Linked DNA regions of Homo sapiens: region 2 is linked to region 1. Evidence: promoter capture Hi-C in 16 types of primary human blood cells and fetal thymus (Javierre and others, 2016). All regions are on one chromosome and are shown on one strand. Each heading gives the region's core, a stretch centred on a gene start or on the middle of the fragment in contact. The rest is flanking DNA. Distances are from core to core; before and after follow the strand shown.

The links. Contacts are between HindIII fragments. The CHiCAGO score rates a contact against its expected background, and 5 or more counts as called.
Region 2: a contact is called between a fragment that was not itself captured here and the fragment with the promoter of COMMD9 in region 1, in 10 of 17 cell types (naive CD8 T cells, naive CD4 T cells, naive B cells and 7 more). The highest score is 12.5, in naive CD8 T cells.

Annotation. Positions count from the first base shown.
Region 1 is chr11:36,286,318-36,292,000 of GRCh38, reverse strand. It overlaps COMMD9 (COMM domain containing 9), which reads left to right and starts at 2,577. Exons shown (of 6, transcript NM_014186.4): 1 at 2,577-2,639. The coding sequence starts at 2,589. RefSeq lists enhancers at 2,427-2,676, 2,513-3,215. The HindIII fragment of the contact is 8,947 bases long and covers 2,260-5,683 here.
Region 2 is chr11:35,685,862-35,691,303 of GRCh38, reverse strand. All of the region lies in intron 2 of TRIM44 (tripartite motif containing 44), which reads right to left. Among named protein-coding and RNA genes, the nearest start is that of TRIM44, 26 kb to the right of the region's middle. RefSeq lists an enhancer at 803-972. The HindIII fragment of the contact is 210 bases long and covers 3,614-3,823 here.

The DNA of each region.
Region 1 (5,683 bases), core at 1,328-3,827:
GTGTGTGTATGTATATACATACGTATATATATAATATCATAGGATAGGAATGGGAAGTAAATTAATCAGTAAATGTAAGGGCTTAGAACAGAGCCGGGCACATAACAAGTTTATTAAATAAATGAAAGTCAGCACTGATTCCTATATTCAGAATTGGAAAGAAATTAGGTTTGGCCTAATGAAAACCAGGCAATGGGACCAAATCACAGAAATGAACTCCGACATTCTGTTTTGTTCCCACCCATGAAAATGTTTATGGTTTAGAAATTGCTGGACATTCTGCAGACCACAGACAAACCTTTACATGCAACATGGCATTGGCAATCTGGGCAGCCCTACCAAAATGGGATGACATGGTGCCATTCATATCATACCAGCCCGCGAGAGTAAGGAGAGCTGGGAATCCTCCCACTGAAGCAGCTCCTGTCGCTCAGCTCTGCTCTCTGAACTAGATGGGTGTGATGAACACCATTTTACAGAGGTGGAAACTGAGGCCCAGAGAAGTTCAAGAATTTGTACACGGAAAAGTTAATAATGTGTAGAATTAGGATTCCAACTCAGGTTGAATTCTAAAACCCCTATGCTTTGCTGCCACCATGCATTAGTTACTATTGCTGTATAACAAATTACTTCAAAGCTTCATAGCTTAAAACAACAAACATTGATAATCTTAATAGTGTTTGAAGGCCAGAAATCCAGGCGTGGCTTCGCTGGGTGGTGCTGGCTCAGAATCTCTCATGAGGTTGCAGTTAAGCTGTTGGCCAAGACTCCTGCCTTCTTAAGGCTCTACTGGGCCTAGACAATCTGCTTCTCAGGTCAGTAATGAAGTTGTTGGCCAGATGCTTCAGTTCCTTGTCACCTAGGCCTCTCTGTAGGACTGTTTACAACATGGCAGTTTGCTTTCCCCAGAGCAAAGGATTCAAGTGAAAGAGAGCAGGGCACATGAGAGAGCACCCAAGCCAGGAGACAGGAACTTCAGTCTTTTTGTTAGTTTTTTGGTGCAGTCTTGTATAACCTAATCTCAGAAGTGATATGCCATTCACACCCACCATTTGCTATTGGTCATGCATACCAATCCTGGTACATGGTGGGAGGTGTCTACACTAGGTTGTGAACACCAGGAGGCTGGGATCATTGAGGGCCATCTTGAAGGCTGGTGACCACACTCCTCATTACTCTAAAGTAAGACAAGAAGGCACAATCCTGCAAATACCAAGGCAATATCCTCAAATAAGTCACAAAATTTCATCTTAGTCTAATCACTTTTTTGGGTGGTTGTTTATTTAACAAATATTCAATTAACCCAAGACAATGGGCCCAGCCCTATAGATACAGGCAGGAGTTAAACCTAGAACCTACATTGAGTTATAACAGAAACCAGGAATCAGGCCATGAGGGTTCATGGAAAAGAGAGGCCAAGAAAGAGAGCTAGAATCAGGACCCTGTGACAAAATGGTTCTAAAATCTTCTAATCCAGGAATGGGTTCCTCCTTAGACAATTTGATTTTTGGTTTCCTGGGCCTTGACAACATCCCCACAGAAAATGGAGTCGGGGAAGGGGAAGGGGGAGGAGAGGAGACAAAGGAACAAATGTCCTTAGCAGCTTACCAATTTCTGGAATTTCACAAATGGGCATTCTTTCTTAAGCTCGAATATATCAGAACCCATTTTTTGAGCTGGAATTTGCTTAAAAAAAAGTGGAGGGTAGGAAAAGAAAAGAGCCACCCAAATACTAAAGGTAGATAAAGGAAATGTCTGTTTTGATGTACGGTCTCTGAGAACAGGGCAAATCAGAGTCCAGTACTGCCAGTGCAAAATCACTCTTTACAATTATATTCATTATAATTACCTTTTTGAATAAATGAACTAAATCATTTCCATTAACCTCCTCCCCCATCTCACCCCCGTATAACAAGAACCTAGCTAGGTAGTAGCTTTCATTCCATTCCTCTCTTGTCCCCTCTCCCAAACACTTCCTCACCTGCTCTTGTAATCAGATCTTCTCTATGACTATGGGAAAGTTACTAAAAACCCTAAATGATTATTTCCCAATCTGGATAATACTAATAATACCAGCTCCAACCTACTACATAGGCTGAAAAACTATATACGCAGAAGTAATTTTACATTCAAGACAGGATGTGTGCATGTGTGTGTGTCAATTCCAAGAAGCCCGATATGCACAGCCTCATTTTCATTCCAAACACTGGTACGCCGATCACTCCTGAACAACTACGTTTCCAAGGCGCCTGCCAAGCTTGCAGGTGCATTCCCCAAGTGCGCCAGCCCACCCACATGGGTCAAGGGAAAACCTGTTTCCCTGACTTGGTAAGTAGACAAGTCAAGCCAATTTCCTCCCCGAGTAAACCATCCTCCGCCCTGGTCCCCCTAGTCCTTTGGTTCTAGAGTCTCGGGGTTTAGTCATCCAGCCGCCGCGTCCGTCTTGATCCGCGCTCACTGCCGCAGCACCACAACCGAAACGCCTTCCCCCACTCTGAAGGACTACAGCCCCCGGCAGGCCCCGCGACAACAGCGACAGCCACGTGACCTCGCTTCCCTGGGTGCCACGGTCATGTGACTTCGGCAAGATGGCTGCCCTGACAGCGGAGCATTTTGCAGCACTCCAGAGCCTGCTCAAGGTAAGTCGAAGGGGTGGGGACAGCGTGAGGTGGCCCTTTGTCTCCGAGACTTTAGACGGAGCAGGAATTGGGAACAAATTGACCCTGGTTTGGAGCCACAACTCTGCTGCTTGTTCTCTGTGTGATCCCAGGCAAATCGTTGCGTCTTTCTGAGCTTTTAAAAAGTAAGAACAAAATATCGTTTTGACAGGAACGTAAGATAAAAAAAAATAAAATAATGGGCATGAAGGCGCAGTACAACCTCCTGCTATTAGTCTTTGGGATTGGTTTTCGGTATTGGTGCATTGAAGTGGTAATTGCTAGACCCACGTTGTCAGTTCCCCATTTCATCCCGTAGCCCCTCCTGCATTGCACAATTAAGAAATTATCTCCTACTGCGTCTGCCCAGCCCTCCGAATGACCTGTGCGTTCAATGTTCCCTTGAGGTCCAGATTTTCCCTACTCTCTTTGACCTGCGAAAGGGGCAGGACATACTCCTGATAATCATTTGAAAAGTTGTGAGGTTGAAAGGGACCTACTTCATAGGGCTTTGTAAAGCTCAAATGAAGTATTATTATTATTTGAGACGGAGTCTAGCTCTGTTGTCCAGGCTGGAGAGCAGTGGCGCAATCTCGGCTCACTGCAACCTCCGCCCCCCGAGTTCAAGCAATTCTATGCCTCAGCCTTCCGAGTAGCTGGGATTACAGGCGCCCGCCACCAAGCCTGGCAAATTTATGTATTTTTAGTAGAGACGGGGTTTCAACATCTTGGCCAGGCTGGTCTTGAACTCCTGACCGCGTGATCCACTCGCCTCCGCCTTCCAAAGTGTTGGGATTACAGGCGTGAGCCACCGCGCCTGGCCGGAATTATTTAACTTATGATTTGCCCTGTAGGAGAAAGGGCAGCTTTATTTTCCTTCGTAGAACTTGTCGCTAGCTATTTGCCCGTTGTCCGTCTGTCTCATAAGAATGTAAGATCCATCAGGGACCTTTCCTTTCTTCCTCTCTCTTTTTTTTTTTTTTTAAACACCAGGTGAAGAGGGTTGAGTTACTCTCCTCAATTTATGGCACATCATCATCATCGGTCCATGTAATAGTCTCTGTTTTGTTTTACTTATTTATTTTTTAATTGCCTTCTCAGTGTTCATTAGCATTCTCCACTCCTAAGGGGATCTACTCTTTTGTTCACAAGTGTTAATGCCCAATAAGTAGAACAATAATACCTGGCACACAGCACGTGCTCAGTAAATAGCTGTTAAATGAATTAATAAATGAAGTAACAGAGCTGGGACTGGCAATCTAGGGCTCTCAGCTCCCAACCCAGTGCCTTTTCACCTTCATTTTGGCTGCTCTGTACCTACCCCCGCCCCTATACCTGTTGGTCTTATGCACTCTTTTCTTTTAAAAACTTTAAAAGATTAGTGTGTAGTATACATACAGAAAAGTGCATAAACCATACATTTACAGTTAAATGATTTATTACACACCAATGTAACCACCACCAAAGTCAAAAAATGAAATGTTACCAGTACCCCAGAAGTCCCCCTTTCGCCCTTTCTTTGCTTCCTCACTTTCTTCCCCAATGGTAACCTCTATGTTTGCTTCTGATACAATTCATTTAATATTGCCCATGTTTGAACTTAACATAAATGGAATAATACAGCATATACTTTTTTTTTATGCCTGGCTTCTTTTGCTCACCATTATGTAGCAGTAGTTCATTGATTTTCATTGCTACTGTCCTGTGTACTTTCTTTTCTTTTTTTAAAAAAATACTTAGACTTTTTATTATGAGATAATTATAAATCCATATGTAGTTGTAAGAAATAATATAGAGAGATCCCATTTATCCTTTACTCAGTTTCCCTCAGTTCTGCAGGATTCTGCGGAACTATACATAATATAGTATATATACTATTATGTATAGTATGTATATAATATAGAGTATACATACTACACGATATACATAGTATGTAGTATACATACTACGCGATATACATAGTATGTAGTATACATACTACGCGATATACATAGTATGTAGTATACATACTACGCGATATACATAGTATGTAGTATACATACTACGCGATATACATAGTATGTAGTATACATACTACGCGATATACATAGTATGTAGTATACATACTACGCGATATACATAGTATGTAGTATACATACTACGCGATATACATAGTATGTAGTATACATACTACGCGATATACATAGTATGTAGTATACATACTACGCGATATACATAGTATGTAGTATACATACTACGCGATATACATAGTATGTAGTATACATACTACGCGATATACATAGTATGTAGTATACATATATAGCATACTTACTATTATGTATGGTTCTGCATAGGGGAAATTGGGTAAAGGATAAATGGATGTCAATACCTAATGTCAAAAGTATTGATATTGACAGTCAAAATACAAAACATTTCCACCACCACAAAGATTCCTCATGAATAGCCACACTCTCCTTAACCTTTGGCGTTATTCATTTCTCTAATTTTGTCATTTCAAGAATGCCGTATAAATGGAATAATACAGTAAGTAACCTTCTGAGATTGACTTTTTTCACTCAGCCTAATTTTCATCCATGTTGTGTGTATCAATAGTTCTTTCCTTTTTATTGCTGAGTGGTATTCCATGTAATGATTGTCCAACAGTGTTGTACTGTGTAGTTTTCAGCATGCACATCCTGTATTTCATTTTTTGAGCAATTGCAAATGGTTTTGGTTTTTTTTGGTTTGTTTGTTTGTTTGTTTGTTTTGAGAGAGTCTCGCTCTGTGGCCCAGGCTACAGTTCAGTGGCATGATCTCAGCTCACTGCAACTTCCACCTCCTGGGTTCAAGGGATTCTCATGCCTCAGTCTACCAAGTAGCTAGGACTACAGGTGCCCACCACCCCTCCAGGCTGATTTTTTTTTTCTTTTCTTTCTTTCTTTCTTTCTTTCTTTTTTTTTTTTTTTTTTGTATTTTTAGTAGAGACAGGGTTTCCCCACGTTGGCCAGGCTGGTCTTGAACTCCTGGCCACAAGTGATCCACCAGCC
Region 2 (5,442 bases), core at 2,469-4,968, 600 kb after region 1:
TGCCCAAGTGTCTAGAGAGGATAAAAAGGGGCCACATTTACTTCTTCCTAGAGCAAGACTGAGGGAGCACAGGTATTTTTCCCATTTAGTGTCCTTCACTAATCGGGTCAAACTGTGGAAGCACTTGCCTCAGTTCTTCATTTAGCGAGGGCTAAATGCTCTGAGGGTTATGGCTTTTTTGCCATCTCCCCACATTTTCTGTTGGAAAAGGCCATTCTCCAGTCCTGGTTCTCTGGAGCTGTGGGGGACTGTGCTATGGCACAGGATCCCAGTAAAGGGAGGTAGAAGAAGAGTGTGATTAAAAAAATAATCAGTTAAGGGTCACATTGCTAGGGATGCCAGGCTATATATACATCTATTTACCCATGAATTCAATAACAGTGTATGGGTGAAGAACATGAAGTGAGACAAATCTCGAGTTAAGCCCTGGTCCCACCACTTACTAGCAAGCTATTTAACCCCTTGAAGTCTCAGAATGCTCATCCATAAAACAAGACAAATACTTACTTTTATAGGTTGCTGTAATAGATAATACATATCAATTACTATGTGCCAGGTTCCATGCTAATAAGGGCTGAAGATACAGGGATAAAATAAATATAACTCATGATCTCCAAAATTCCCTACTTACAACTTTTTAAATGAAAAGTCCAGAAATGGGTCAATAATTCTAGTAACTCATCAACCACAGGAACACTTCTATATGTAACAACTTGATAGCTGAGGCATCTCAATTCTCTGCTTCAGCTGGTTGAATAAACAGTGCCCCAGTGAATACTTCTTTTTTGGCACAGGGCAAGGATCAAGATGATGCCTGGCTTGATCCTTGTGAATAATGGGACACAATAGGACACAATAATAAGAATTTCAAATTAGGTTTTGCTTATATTCATCACTACCTGTACATTTAAAATTTGTATTTTTTGACAAGAATCTGATTATCACAGAAGAGTGAAGGACTAGGCTGTGTTCCATGCCAATGATATCAGCTATGACAAATGATTGCAGAGTTCTTTTGCAATTATAAAATGCTACATAAATGCTGAAATAAAAAAAGAAAACCATTCTTGGGTTTATTTAACTAATTTCATGCTGCTAGATAATTTTTTGGTTTCACACTTCAGTAAGAATACCTCTAGAGGCTAGAGGAAACAAAAGGAAAAAAAAACTGCTGTTTCAGGAAGCCTTGGGTATGATCAGATCCCATGTTTAATCCCACTCCAGTCACACAGAACAATGTGAGCCACTTGGCTCAAGTTTTAAGATGCTTCTTTTTGAGAATATAAGATTAGTATGAATTCAAGACACACAACTGTGCTAACTGTTTGCTTCAAGCACACCAGTTACAGGAAACAATGAACAGTGCATATCAGAGGGAAAGAAAAGCAATCAATACATAATAGAGAGAAAGTGGCTGTTATTAACTACATAATAAGAGGTTAGTTTGATTGAGCTTAGCATGTTGTACTTTTGGTTCAATGCTTTCTGAGGACTGGGCAGGGGGAAGGGAGGAAAGGGAATCAACGTGTTTTCCAAGCCTAGGTTACCTCTGAGTAAACTGTGAAAGATAACTGCATAGTCACTACAAAGGAAAGCTGTGAAGATAAAGAAATAAAAAAGCTCTAAATTTCTTAAAAATCCAAGTACAGACACACATATACACACATACCCCTGACTGATTACATTTTAAAATTTCCCTAAAGCCTACCATAAATGTACTCAATCTACAGATAAGAATCCTGCTTGTGCAATAGGTGTTTCAGAAAAGTTTGGCTGGAGAAAAAAAAGTTTGCAAACTAAACCAAGTCAAACACATTAGGACAGCGTATTATGTAAAAGACCATTTCCTACTAATCGTTTTGACAAACTAAAGATTGTTTGTTATTAAAAGTAATCTTCTTCCACGATATAGAGGGTTCTAGATGCCCAGAGGTATGTACCCTTTAAAACAGGGCTCACCACAGCAACATCCATGCACAAAACTTCATTCGGTCTTGTACCCTATTTCTTAACCATCACTGGCTCTGATTCCTCTCCTAAGGCTCACCCATAATGGCTGGTTGTTCCTGATTTTCCTCTGGTTTTAGAACTCAGCCTACACCTCAACCATGGCAGGGAGCTTTGATCATCCTCCTAAATCCCGACCAGGATCCCTTTCCCTCTTTTTGGCTTTGCTAATTCTCTGTTGGAAGTGACAGTGTAAAGCAGTCCCGTCCTTTTAGCCTAAGCTGACTTCCTAACCCACCTCTTTTTCCCCTCCCTACTCCTTTCCTACCTCTGCTCAACTTGTTTCATAAGCCTAGATTTTTATCTACCTTTTTTCCAAAGTTGAAATCACCTGGACTTATTTCTAGGGGCTCTTCTACTTGTTCAAAGAAGTGAAAAAAAATCATTAGCAAACATAGAGGAAAACAGCTAAGGTACAGCACAGAGGTTCTCAAAGTGTGGTACTTGAAACAGCAACATCAGCATCACCTGATAATTTCATAGAAATGAACATTGTCTAGCCACCCCAGGCCAATTGAATAAAAAACTCTGGAGGTGGGCACAGCACTCTATATTTTAATACGTCTTCTGGGTGATTTTCATGTACACTGAAGTTTAAGAACCTCTGGGTCTGGAAGAAAAGAAGATGTCTGACAAATGTTTTGAATAAAATGAGGCATCTCATTAAACAGAATCAAGTCTATATTTTTGACACAGAAGAATATCTAAGATATTCCACATAAAGGAAAAAGCAATTGTAAAACCATGGGTATAATTTTGTAAAAGAATTTTGAAAAGGTACTACATAGAAAAATGTCTAGAAGGTTACATACTAAACTGTTAACAGTGGCTAACTTAGGGGAGATTTTACTTTTTCTTTATGAATATCTGTATTTTTAAATCTATAAGTATGTATTATTTTATAATTTTAAAAAAATGATTAATTTAGACATCTTCTACTGCTCTCTAGCAAAACTCAAGAGGTAAAAATTAACTCATTCCCCAATAGGCTTCAGTGTCTGGACTAATCAAGCTTTGTGATGCTTTAGGGAATTCTAGAGGAAGTGAGGCAGAGATAGTGCTCAGTCCTCCATGACTCAATCAGTGCTTCTATGTAAAGCCTCTGTGCCCAGGAAATGACAGGTCACAAAGCCTAAGAGATTTCTGCCCTTCTTAAATAGGCCAACTCAAAAAGGGGATGGTGGGGCTCTGTGGGAAAACAGAACAGACAAAAACTTAAGGGTTGTCTTGGAAGATGCCAATTTATTTCTAGGAAAATCTTCTTTGTGCAGAAATTATATATTTAAGTGGCCTGTTTTTTACCCCCATTCCTGACCTGGCAGTCATTCTGCAATTACGTTCACCCTTCTTCAAGCTGGCTCCAAGTATATACAGCATATGGTTGTGGTAGACTAAAAAGGGGCTTGAAAATAAAATAGGTTGGTAGTAAATGATCCAGGGCAAAATAAAAAGAACGTAAAAAAGAGGTGCAGGTATACACACACACCCAAGATCAAGTCGGGTCCTTACAAATATCCTTTACCTTATGATGCATCAAGAGAAAACCCTGACACTTCCAGGGATTCCTCTCATGCAACCGCTCAAACCTTTCACTTTCTGGCAAGCTTTCCATCAGAAGCACTACATGCATTCATAAAGGATCCCAAAGCACTTTACCTGTATTATAGTCATACACAGAGAACACTCAGTGTGATTTGTACACATCCGCTCCCTCTTCACTGCACTGCTAATTATAAGTTTGGCGGAATCAGAATATGGTTGTCTCCTGCAGAACAGGAGTTGCTCCAGAAACCAGAGAAACTTGGTAAGAAAAGCTTTCAGTAACTTTTAATAAGTGGTTCATCCTAGCTAAAGGAAAAACTTTTATCAGGGGTCCTCCTACTTTGAGCTAGGAAAGTTGATAAAGGTTACTCTAATTTTTTCTATCTACCAACCTAACTCTCTACTTCTGGAACCCTGACTACACCAGAAGACAAGAGATCTTACCAATGTCCCCGATATTTTCATTGCCATATGAAGAGAAATTTATTCTTGTGGCTGCAGCCACCTTTTGAAGAGCCCACCAGTCTATGGCTCTGCCACATATTGTGTTTCAATTTAGAAAACTGCAGCACAATGTGATCATGTGGCAGAAAGGAGATAAAATCCAGTGCTTGGTTTGCATGACATAAGATAAAGAGTATAGGCACTGGAGTCAGAGTTTGAATTCCACATCTATATTACATTAGATTTGGGCAGATGATTCTACCTTTCTAAACCTCAGTGTTCTTATCAATAAAGTAGGAAGAAAATGCTACTTTACAGTGTTGTTAAATAATTAAAAGTATTTAAGGGGAGAGCAGGAATGAGAAGTTAGCATTTAATGGGTACCGAATTTCAGTTTGGGATAGTAAAAAAGCTCTAGAGATGGACAGTGATGATGGCTGCACAACAAAGTGTGGCCAGGTGTGGTGGCTCACGCCCATAATCCCAGCACTTTGGGAGACTGAGGCGGGCAGATCACTTGAGGTCAGGAGTTCGAAACCAGCCTGGCCAACATGGTGAAACTCTGTCGCTAGTAAAAACACAAAAAGTTAGCTGGGTGTGGTGGCATGTGCCTGTAGTCTCAGCCACTCAGGCGGCTGAGGCAGGAGAATCACTTGAACCTGGGAGGGAGAGGTTGCACTGAGCCGAGATCATGCCACTGCACTCCAACCTGGGCATCAGAGCGAGATTCCGTCTCAAAAAAACAAAAAACAAAAACAAACAAACAAACAAAAAACCAAAGTGAATGTACTTAATGCCATTGAACTGTACACTCAAAAATGGTTAAAATTTTGTATGTATATTTTAGTACAATCATGTAAGAGTCCTAGCAAAGTGCCTGACTCTCAGTAGATACTCAAGAAATGCTAGTCCCATTCCTCTTAAAAAAAAAAAAAACAAAAACAAAAACAAAAAGAACCTACAGTAAAATAAAATCATGCGCCTTTCCCTATTTAATTGTGAGAAACTTTGATTCTAAGGCAAAGCCAGCTGGCCCCAATACCAGGTAGTGCCACAGTAAGTGTCTGGGTAGGAAGGAGAAGGAAGTCTGTTCAGTTCCGTTTACCTCCACCCCGTTATGGTGTCTCCCAGAATATCAATCCTCTAGACCCTAACATATTGAAATAAAAAAAAAAAGCCGGGACACTTAAACCAGTTTCCAAACCAGACTTCAGGTCATGAGGAAAAAAGTATTCTGAGTGGCAGCTGGCTCCTGGAAGCAGTGGAGAGATAAGACGCTAGTGCTGAACACCAACTAGATGAGTCTGGATCCCATGCCAGTCCCTGGCATTAAGATGATCTGTATTTCTCAGCTGGTGCGGTGGCTCACACCTGTAGTCCCAGCACTTTGGGAGGACGAGGAGGGCGGATCACGAGGTCAGGAGTTCGAGACCAGCCTGACCAACATGG